4 separate regions of the Homo sapiens genome follow, and all the other regions are linked to region 2. Evidence: promoter capture Hi-C in 16 types of primary human blood cells and fetal thymus (Javierre and others, 2016). All regions are on one chromosome and are shown on one strand. The core of a region is centred on a gene start or on the middle of the fragment in contact, and the rest is flanking DNA. Distances in the headings are between cores, read along the strand shown.

Evidence for each region. Contacts are between HindIII fragments. The CHiCAGO score rates a contact against its expected background, and 5 or more counts as called.
Region 1: a fragment that was not itself captured here is called in contact with the fragment with the promoter of OSGEP in region 2 in 1 of 17 cell types (total B cells); the score reaches 5.1 in total B cells.
Region 3: a fragment that was not itself captured here is called in contact with the fragment with the promoter of OSGEP in region 2 in 1 of 17 cell types (fetal thymus); the score reaches 5.3 in fetal thymus.
Region 4: a fragment that was not itself captured here is called in contact with the fragment with the promoter of OSGEP in region 2 in 1 of 17 cell types (M0 macrophages); the score reaches 5.6 in M0 macrophages.

What each region holds. Positions count from the first base shown.
Region 1 is chr14:20,871,639-20,874,338 of GRCh38, reverse strand. It overlaps LOC100507513 (a long non-coding RNA gene), which reads left to right. Exons shown (of 4, transcript XR_110261.4): 3 at 1-780. Among named protein-coding and RNA genes, the nearest start is that of RNASE3, 18 kb to the left of the region's middle. RefSeq lists enhancers at 288-337, 448-547. The HindIII fragment of the contact is 1,516 bases long and covers 554-2,069 here.
Region 2 is chr14:20,453,522-20,456,221 of GRCh38, reverse strand. It overlaps OSGEP (O-sialoglycoprotein endopeptidase), which reads left to right and starts at 1,410. Exons shown (of 11, transcript NM_017807.4): 1 at 1,410-1,653. The coding sequence starts at 1,539. APEX1 (apurinic/apyrimidinic endodeoxyribonuclease 1) reads right to left here and starts at 996. Exons shown (of 5, transcript NM_001641.4): 1 at 828-996; 2 at 519-644; 3 at 121-308. The coding sequence starts at 576. RefSeq lists enhancers at 733-952, 1,373-1,462, cis regulatory regions at 1,014-1,019, 1,035-1,040, 1,053-1,085, 1,096-1,101, 1,098-1,139 and 2 more and promoters at 887-1,221, 886-1,423, 1,053-1,497. The HindIII fragment of the contact is 3,687 bases long and covers 891-2,700 here.
Region 3 is chr14:20,951,609-20,954,308 of GRCh38, reverse strand. No RefSeq gene overlaps it. Among named protein-coding and RNA genes, the nearest start is that of RNASE2, 2.5 kb to the left of the region's middle. The HindIII fragment of the contact is 7,527 bases long and covers 1-2,700 here.
Region 4 is chr14:20,821,372-20,824,071 of GRCh38, reverse strand. No RefSeq gene overlaps it. Among named protein-coding and RNA genes, the nearest start is that of RNASE1, 20 kb to the right of the region's middle. RefSeq lists an enhancer at 2,048-2,342. The HindIII fragment of the contact is 1,018 bases long and covers 787-1,804 here.

The sequences.
Region 1 (2,700 bases), core at 62-2,561, 420 kb before region 2:
CAAGGTCTTCTTTGTAAATGCTTCGTCCTTTGCACGCAGGCTCCTGCGTCTTTCTTACAGCCTGTTCCCCACCAACCCCATGTGCCCTACCCCTGCCACAGTGTCAGGGCTTTTGGTGGAGGATAAGGCTGCAGTGGAGGGTTGGTGGGAGGGAGCCTGAATTACGGAAATAATACTCGGGAAAAGACTTGCTCCAACCAAGCTGCTAGACAATCCCCTTCTCCTGGGGCTGATCTTCCCACCAGCTGCTCTCATAAAACCTCCTGATGGCTGGCCCTAGGTTTCCTGGATCATAGGGTCCTTCTGCCTTCTGCGGGACATTCTATGCCTTTCTCCTCAATGGGCTCCTTCGGAGGGTATTAGGGACGATACCCTGGCGGGAAACCGCTTCCTTTAGGGAAACAAATCACTGTGGCTCCAGGGGTGTCACCGGAAAAAGCCGTTTCCGGAGAAGCCGGAGGAGCTTGGGCAACTCCGCAGGCCCAGAGCCTTCGTGGTCTCCCAGTTCCCGTGGCCGTCGTATTGGTCGGCAGGGGGCGCCGCGCCACAAGCTTCCTGCACAAGAGTCCAAAACTTCTTTCTTGGTTTCCTTTGAGACAGGCTGCAGGTTTCTTGGTTGCTGACACGGGTAGACGATAATAGGTGAATAAACAAAATCCAGCCAGCATAAATACAGTCTAACTGTTGAAGAACAGATTTCTGAGTCTACCATAACTTTCATACACTGCAGCACTTTAACGTTGAACCTGCCACCTTCAGATTCACACTGCAGCACCTCAGGTAAGAAGGAAAGGAAGTGAATATGCACTGAGGACCTACTTGTGTTATGAGCTTTACAGTTCAGCTGCGCTGGAGAAGAGTTTATTTCTTTCATGGAATCCATTACATCACCGATCCCCTTCTGAAGGAGGTTATTTTATCCACGAGAGGAAGCATCCAAAGGTGTTCATATTCTCTACCCTGTGACTCCAGCAGAATGGTGACAAGGTTTTGAAGCAAAGGAGGGCACTTGACTCTAGGGCAGCCGTCCATTAACTGACTAGCCCGGTGCCTGTGGAACAGAGTTGCGTGAGGATTTTACCCTTTTGGAATAATCCAGTGACAAAACTGGATACTATTACTTTCATTCCTTCCCCCGATGCCAGGAGGTATAGCTGTTTTGCCTTTGTTCTTGACATTCAGCACTTAGCCTAATGCTCGCTATAAAAGTGCCTTCAAGAAATCTTTAAGGGGCCATTTTGGTAGGTCTGGTTGTTGCTGTGGATCTTTTGTAGATGCCCATTTTTAGATTAGAAAAGTTTCTTCCCTTCTGCTCCTGTTTATGTCTCTTGAATGGATTGGGAATTTCGTTGAATGATGGGATTATACAGCATATTTCTTTAATCAGTTAATGGGGTGAATTAGATTAGTTGATTTTAGAATACTAAACCAACCTTGTATTCCTGGGATAAACCCATTTTGGTTATGTGATATAATCTTTTTTATATATGACTAAATTTAATTTGCTAATATTTTGTTAAATTTTTTTTGCATTTATGTTCACGAATGAGATTGGTCTGTAATTTTTTGTATTGCCTTGTTTAATTTTGGTATCTAGGTTATATGTTAGCTTCCAGAAATGAATTGGGGAGTAGTCCTTCTTTATTTTGTAACTGGAATTATATGTTATTTTAATACTTGGTAGAACTCACATGTAAGGCTGTTTGGTCCTGATATTTTCTTATTTTCTTTGAGACTGCTTTTTCTTTTTTCTTTTCCTTTTTTTTTTTTTTTGGAGATGGGTCTTCCTATGTTGCCCAGGCTAGTGTGCAGTGGCTATTCACAGGTGCAATCACAGAGCATACCTCGAATTACTGGTCTCAACTGATCCTTGAACACTCGGTCTCAGGTGCCTCAAACTCCTGGGCTTGAACTCCTGATCTCGAATAATCCTGCTGCCTCAGCCTCCAGAGTAGCTGGGTCTACAGGTACACACCACCAGGCTTAGCCTCAAACTATTTTAAACTTCTGTTTCAATTTCCTTAATGGTTAAAGAGATGCTAACTTTTCCATTTCTTCTTGAGAAAGCTTTGGTAGATTGTTTTTTCCCACGTAGGAATTTATCCATTTCGTCTAAAGTTCCCAAATATATTAGCACAAAGTTATTCATAATCTGTTTAATATTTATAGCATTGATTTTATGTCCTATTTTTATTCTGACTTTTTTGTACCTTTTTTATTGATAAAACTTTTGAGGTGTGTCTCTCTTATTAGACAGAGATTTTTTCAGACATGCAGAAGCGAGTACTTATAAACTCATGTAGAAACTTTTTTAGAATGGGTCCGTCTTTTTTTTTGAGATTGAGTCTCACTCAGTCACCCAGGCTGGAGTGCAGTGGCACAATCTCGGTTCACTGCAACCTTCGGTTCCTGGGTTCAAGCAACTCTCCTTCCTCAGCCTCCTGAGTAGCTGGGATTACAGGCATGCGCCACCACACCCAGCTAATTTTTGTATTTTTAGTAGAGACAGGGTTTCACCATGTTGGCCAGGCTGGTCTTGAATTCCTTACCTCAGGTGATCTGCCCTCCTCAGCCTCCCAAAGTGCTGGGATTACAGGTGTGAGCCACCGTGCCTGGCCAGGTCCACCTCTTGAGCCACACAGATCTGCTTCCCCAGACAGGTTCAAGAGACAACTCCTCCAGGCTTCCTACCAGTCTCTG
Region 2 (2,700 bases), core at 161-2,660:
CAGAAAACTACGGGCAGGAGAAAAATAAAACAGCCTGAAGGCTAAACGGAGAAAAGGGGTGACTAAACCCTAAGACCATTCAATACTAAAAAATGTCTCTTTCCCTCAAATTCCACTCACATCTAATCCTTTCTTCTTAATCCAGGCTCGAAGCCCATCCACATTCCAAGAGCAGATCTTGAGTGTGGCAGGTTTGCCACTGGGTGAGGTTTTCTGATCTGGGGGGTCCTCATACAGGGCTGGGCCCTCTCCTGCTGCCTCTTTGTCATTTTTCTTTGCGGCCGTCTTACTCTTCTTGGCCTCTGGCTCTATAAAATGAGTAATATATACTGACAAAAAGCTGGTGGTTTCCAACTGCGATCCGGCGTTAACTATAGACCCAACGAAAGCCTACGGTTCCTGCGACTTCTTCACAAACCCCTGCAAAAATGAGTCGGCCCGTACTTACCGTACATCAAGGGAATGACAAACACCCCCGCCGCAGCTTCTAGGAAGAAGGGCTGATTTCATTCCCTTACCTGTCCTGAGCTCATCCCCGTCTTCCGCCACCGCTCCCTTTTTCCCACGCTTCGGCATTCCCGTTACGAACGCCCTTGGGCAGCTGTACCGCGTCACCCACCGAAGCAATATTTTTACCGCGTTGCCTACAGACGCAAAGAAATCATGAAACCAGCTAAGGCTGGGGAGAAGACTCCTCCCAAGAGCGTCCCCGCACCAGGTCCCGCCTTTCAAACCACGTTATCTCTAAATCCTTTCCCCGCCTCCGTGCATCATAGGCCCTTCAGCCCCTCACCCACGAAACTAGATCATTTCATAGTGCCTTGTACCCTACTCGCGAGATCTGCCCTCCAGCCAATTGAGGATCTTAATTAAGGGTCCTGACTCAAGCTTGCCGTTCAGACTGCCAGCGAAGCCCCTCTTATGAGCAAAAGAGCAACCCCGTATCTGCACCGGCCCGATGGCAGCCTAGCTCCTCCTAACCCGAGCACAAAGAAGGGTGCACGCTGAGCCCCCACGTGGGTAGCGGACCTGGTCACGTGATCAGAGGCGCGCTTGTCGTGGCCGAAGAATGCGCGTGATTGGTCTGTCTGACACCACGTGACGGAGACGCTTAGCCTCGCCTCCCTCCTCTAATTCTCTAGGACACTTAGGTCCCCAACCCTCCCTCGGGCTGTTTATCGTTGTGCCAGATGCACAGCACATTGTGTGACACTGACTTAAGATTCTAACTATGTGCAAGAGGGAAAAAAACAGTGGAGAAGGCTGGGCTGGACCACGGGAAAGAGATAGGAAAACGGATACGAATGTAAGGCACAGAGTTGGCTCGGCGTCCCTGGCAGTTAGGAAGACAGGTCCCTGGAGGGGCCTTGGCGGGTCTCCGCTCGCGGGAGTTCCGCGGTGTCTTTCCCAGTGCTATCTGCAGGCTGGCCAGCTTCCTCTGCGCTCCGGAAAGCTGCGGCCCAGCGCGGACTAGTGAGGACCTCCACAGCTCCTGACATTGCCAGGAGTCCTGTCGGCGTTTTCTCCCAGCCTCCGCCATGCCGGCGGTGCTGGGTTTTGAAGGCAGCGCCAATAAGATTGGCGTGGGCGTGGTGCGGGATGGCAAGGTGCTGGCGAACCCGCGGCGGACTTACGTCACGCCTCCTGGCACAGGTTGGTGAGTAGGGGACTTAAGAGTTTTCCGCGCACTTCCCCGCACAGAATCAGCCTTCCATCTTCCTAAATACTAGTGAGGTGCAGCTTTCGATCCGAGTCTCATTGAAATTATGTGACATTATTAACGTCACAAGGCTGATGACTAGAAGAGTTACAGGCACTTGGACGTGGATCTGATGAGTTCATTTACCTTTTACTGAGCGCATTTTATGTGCTAAGTATTCAGAAATAGATGTTATACTGCTGTGGAGTCAGACATATAAATAGATGTTTATACTACAGCATGATAAACAGTATAATAGAGATGGACTCGAAATATTCTGTTTAAAAAACGCTTAGCAGGAGTATAGATTCCAGTTGCCCTGAATATACACTCCCTTTTTAAAAAAAAATTATTTTTTGAAATATTCTAGGATGAGTAGAGAGATGAGAGTGGAAAGACTCCCGGCTTACATGTCAGACAGAACTGGCTGGCTTTGCTATATTCATATTAAATATTTTTGTTTTGGACATTTGGTCTTTATTTTTTATTTTATTTTATTTTTTTGAGACAGAGTCTTGCTCTGTCGCCCAGGCTGGAATGCAGTGGCACGATCTCGGCTCACTGCAATCTCTGCCTTCCAGGTTCAAGCGATTCTTCTACCCCAGCCTCCCAAGTAGCTAGGACTATAGGTGTGCGCCACCACATCCAGCTAAATTTTGTATTTTTAGTAGAGTCGGGGTTTCCACCAGGCCAAGCTGGTCTCGAACTCCTGACCTCAGATGATCCGCCCACCCCAGCCTCCCAAAGTGTGGAAATTACAGGCATGAGCCACCGCTCGGGCCTGGTCTTTGTTTTTAAAATGGGAATAATACCTGTATCATTAGGTCTTGAAGATTAGATGAAAGTACCAAACACGGCTGGGCGTGGTGGCTCACGCCTGTAATCCCAGCACTTTGGGAGGCCAAGGCAGGCAGATCACCTGAGGTCGGGGTTCGAGACCAGCCTGACCAACATGGAGAAACCATGTTTCCACTAAAAAATACAAAAAATTAACTGGGCGT
Region 3 (2,700 bases), core at 157-2,656, 500 kb before region 2:
GGATGATGTGGGGAAATTGTACAGAGGTGGGAAGTGAATTGCAGTGGTAAGACCTGAGTACTAAGAGATGTTAAATCTGGTCTAGCTTTCAGATTAGAAAATTGATATTAGACCCTTAAATGATATAATATACCTTCCAACAGTTAATCTACATAATTTTTACTACCATCCAATTTTCCTGTCATTTAGAAATGCAATAATTTTATCACTGGGGTCCTTAGGTAAATGTGGACACAATGGTGACCCAGTGAGGACTCAATGCGCAGCTAATATTGCTCTGCCTTGAAGTCCTCTTCTGGCCGACATTCATTAGCAGCTTTATCATGAAGCAAATTCTTTTTTCATGTATATTGTGTGGAGATCATTTTTGCAGGTGATGAGAATGTAAAGGTGAATGATACGTAGAGTATCCGCTCTGTGATGCTGACAGACACACTGGGTAGAAAGACTTGCACTCAAGTGTCTATAGTATGAGGCAAAAGACATAGACTGCAGCCCCAGGGCAGGTACCTGGCTAAACAGTGCCTCTTTTCAGCATATACAGTGCTATTTATAATGTTTGGTTTGGAAGGTAAAGTTTGACATTGGAATAGTTCACTAAAAGTTTTCATTACTGTCTTATCTTTAAAAATCACATGATGTTGGTTGGTGCACTGTGTCTCCGTTGCTGTGTGGTATCAATTAGAGCTGGGTAAAGCTGCCTCTGTGGAAGGGGCTCTAGCTCGGGGCTGTTCTCTGACTCCATCTCTGCCTCCTGACTTTCATCCTGTCTGTTCAGTAATGACACCTGCCTGGCTTCTGGAGACATCTGTGCTTATGACGCATCAGACTTGTTGCAGTGTCTTAAGAAATAACTCAGACCATACATAACCTGCCCAATTTGCAACCATATTCATCCTTTAAAATTGTGGTTTTTTTTTTTTTTTTGAGATGGAGTCTTGCTGTTGTTGCCCAGGCTGGAGTGCAGTGGCGCGATCTTGGGTCATTGCAACCTCTGCCTCCCGAGTTCTCCTGCCTCAGCATCTCGATTAGCTGGGATTACAGGCACCCTTCACAATGCCCGGCTAAATTTTGTACTTTTGGTAGAGACAGGGTTTCACCATGTTGGCCAGGCTGGTCTCAAACTCCTGACCTCAAGTGATCCGCCCCCCTGGACTTCCCAAAGTGCTGGGATTATAGGCATGAGCCACCACTCCTGATCACTAAAATTGTATTGAGAACATGCTCATAAGATTTTTCTGATTCTCCCTTGTGTAGATTTCCTGTGTACATTTCCAACTACTTTCATTTGCCTGCAGAACTTTAGAAAAGATCTACTTTGATATTTACGAGCTTTGGGAGAAGACTGTTTTATATGAAGCAGGAATAATAAAGTATAAGCCAACGGTAAACAAAATTCTCTGTGACTTCAGCATGATTTTGTCTTGAACAGACACAAGCCACTTCTCCCGGGTTCTTTATTAGCATAACTTGTCTTGCAGCCTAATTTAACGACACATTTTCAGACCCAATGCACACTTCCACTCAGAGGAATAGTCAGAATTATGCCCCAGTATTAAGTCATTTTTTGGAAACCGATGAACATTGTAAAATATTGTCCCAGACAAAGACTTCTCCATTTATGGTAAAAACCACTGTTGAGTACACTGCATTGATCAATGACTTTTTGCATAGCATTTATGTGCAAAAATATAATGTTTAACACTTGCAATTTCTTCAGCCCCAGGGTACCCTTGCAATATTTGCTCTTAACCTGCTGACAGGGAGGTACCAAACCATAGATACCTTCCTGCACACAGATTTCCCTAATGCAGCAGTGGCTATCTATGGGAAAGACAATGCACACTATTTATTAGGTTGGTGCCAAAGTAATTGCAATTTTTGCCATTAAAAGTAATACAAGATTGTCATAATAATATGGTGCAGGTTAAATTGCACCAAATTGAGTAATATTTTACTTACCTAATTTCTAAAGATATTTGGTGTACTGAGCTCTTCCTGGTCTCTTAAACCTCAGAAAGGTGGCCCTAGGCCTTCCCTCTTATGTGGGGCCTCCTGCATGTCTCCTCTGAAAGCCATTGAATAAGTAGATCTGACCCCTTCGATTAAGTTTCTGGCATGAAAGAGGAAAGAAGTAAGCCTTCTCCTTTTTCCTCAACTATAACAAGTCCTTTACTTCTCTGGAAAGGGAAGAAATGGGAATAGAGCCCCGATGGAATTATGGAGAGGTGTGTCTTAGGAGGGATGAAATAAAGTGTGTTTCCTAAGAAACTGGAAAATTGCATTCGTGTCCCATTGCATATTTTTAAAATCTTTCTTTCTTTCTTTTTCTTTTTCTTTCTTTCTTTCTTTCTTTCTTTCTTTCTTTCTTTCTTTCTTTCTTTCTTCCTTCCTTCCTTCCTTCCTTCCTTCCTTCCTTCCTTTCTTTCTTTCTTTCTTTCTTTCTTTCTTTCTTTCATTCTTTCCTTCTTTCTTTCTTTCTCTTTCAGATGGAGTCTCACTCTGTCACCCACGCTGTAGTGCAGTGGCAAGATCTCAGCTCACTGCAACCTCTGCCTACCGGGTTCAAATGATTCTCCTTTCTCAGCCTCCCGAGTAGCTGGGATTACAGGCGTGCACCACCACGTCCAGCTAATTTTTCTATGTTTGTAGAGATAGGGTTTCACCACGTTGGCCAAGCTGGTCTTGAACTCCTGACCT
Region 4 (2,700 bases), core at 46-2,545, 370 kb before region 2:
TTAGCGGATGTGTGGTGGTATTGTGGACCTTTACCGGAAGCTCTGCCAAATAACTGGAGTGGCACTTGTGCTTTAGTACAATTGGCTATCCTTTTCACCCTGGCATTTCATCAATCGGAGGAAGGAAAAATAAGACATTGTAAAGCAAGAGAAGCCACTTACGGGTCTTTCGACTCACATCTATTTAAATGCAATTGGAATCCCATGGGGAATACCAGATCAATTTAAAACCTGAAATCAAAGAGCTGCAGGATTTGAGTCAATATTTTGGTGGGGGACAATTAATAAAAATGTAGATTGGATAAACTACATCTACTACAACCAACAGCAATTTATTAACTACACTAGAGTTGCTGTTAAAGGAATAGCTGAGCAATTAGAGGCTACTAGCCAGATGGCTTGGGAAAATAGGATAGCCTTAGACATATTAGCAGAATGAAGAGGAATTTGCATCATGATTAAAACTCAATGTTGTACCTTCATCCCAAACAACACCGCCCCTGATGGAAGTACAACAAAGGCATTGCAAGGTCTGACTGCTGTGTCCAATGAGTTAGCCAACAACTCAGGGGTAAATGACCCCTTTATAGGAGGGCTAGAAAAGTGGTTCAGTAAATGGAAAAGGATAATAGCCTCAATTCTTACTTCCCTCACAGCCGTAATGGGTGTACTTATTCTTGTCGGGTGCTGTGTCACACCATGCATCCATGGGTTGGTGCAGAGGCTCATAAAAATGGCACTCACTAAAACCTCCCTTAACTATCCTCCACCTTATCCAGAGAAGCTTCTTCCTTTGGAAAATCAAGCAAAACAACTAAGCCGAGACATGTTAAAGAATTTTGAAGAGAAAAAACTGTAAGGAAATATAAGAGGAGGGGTTGTTAGATATGAGTTCTAAATTTCTCTTCAAAGAATCAGTATGTCAGTATGTTCGTATGTTCAATTCTTTGCCTTCTACTTTTAACTTCCTCGTAAAGCAACCTTTTTCGATTACCTGCTCCACCCTGACTCATTCCAATTACCTGCTCCACCCTGACTCATTCCGATTACTTCCTCTGCCATAACCATTTTCCCCACCAAACCACTCACCCTGTCACTCTCTTTAAATTAGCCAGTCGGAATTAGTTTAGCCTGTGCGTTCTAACCCTAGCCAATAGAGGAACGACACAGCAGCAGGGGCCACATGCGTCAGGGATAAGAACCCCTTTCCCTCCCTTGTCCAAGTGTGTGCTCACCATTGCTCCATCTGTAAGGGTGCACCCTTCTATAGAAGTACATTGCCTTGCTGAGAATTAAAAAGAACATTTTATATTCGAGTGCTATTTCTTTTGTGGCACCAAAACTTTATTTATAACTAGGGGTTTCACCATGTTGGCCAGGCTGGTCTCAAACTCCTGACCTCAAGTGTTCTGCCCGCCTTGGCCTCCCAAAGTGCCGGGATTACACACGTAAGCCACTGTACCTGGCTGGCATTGGTAGTTTTTAAGAGCTTCCAAAAAGATTTATCGAAAAGTCTCATCAAGTTATAAGTAGCAGAGCTGGGGAAAAAACACACTTTTTTTCCCTGACCTTTTATATTACCTGAGCTATATTTATTACACCACTTCTCTGTTTTTGAAAATTCACCTTTCTACAGTAGCAGTCATTAATTGTTGCCTTTTTATTGGAGAGCTAGGCTTCTCATTTATTCTTTTTCAGATGATATTGTACACATCATGACACCTTTCTGAAACCACCTTTGCAAAATTATGACCGAGACAGTGAAACAGATCTAACCTAACTAACTCTATCTTGCTTTTAAGCTTTAAGCTGTCCTTGTTCATTCCCGGGGTAGGCTGAACTAACTTTGGGAGAAACTTGCTTTATGGTTTGTAGTTTAAAACAAAGACAATAACAACCCTTTCCTAAAGCAGACCTCCTTCTTGCCTGGGGACTAGATTCACTTTGTAGGACTAACATTAGCCACAATATTAGAAATTATGGTTTAGGAGTCATGCAGCTGGAGGCTACAAGATTCTGACCCTCCCTAAACTCCTCCTAAGATCAGTGCTTGAGATATTTTGCTGACCCTGCACTTGATGGATCAGCTGGCACCACCCAGATTGATAAACTGGCTCATCTGATCTTGTGTCCCCCACCCAGGAACTGACTCAGTGCAAGAGGACAGCTTCAGTTCCCTATGGTCTTGTTTCCTAACTGACCAGTCAGCACTCCTGGCTCACTGGCTTCCCCCCACCCACCAAGTTGTCAGTAAAAACTCTGCTTCCCTGAATGCTTGGGGAGACTGATTTGAGTAATAATAAAACTCCGGTCTCCCACACAGCCGGCTCTGTGTGAATTACTCTTCCTCCATTGCAATTCCCCTGTCTTGATAAACTGGCTCTGTCTAGGCTGTGGGCAAGGTGAAACCACTGGGTAGTTACATTCCTCCTTCATGAAAAACACATTCCATTTCTTCCACAACCACCTTTTGATTCTGCACCATGTCTAATATTTTTTGTATAGTATTTTCTTTGTTTCTAGTCAGTTAATCTTCTGTGACTCCGTAGCCTTCTACAATGAGACATTAATTTACTTGACATGTATTAATTGGAGACCAACTGTATACATGGCACATGATCAGGAGATATGTGTGAATAAAACACCCTTTCTGTTCTTGAAAACAGTGTAATTTGGGAGACTGAGAAGAAAGAATTCCCA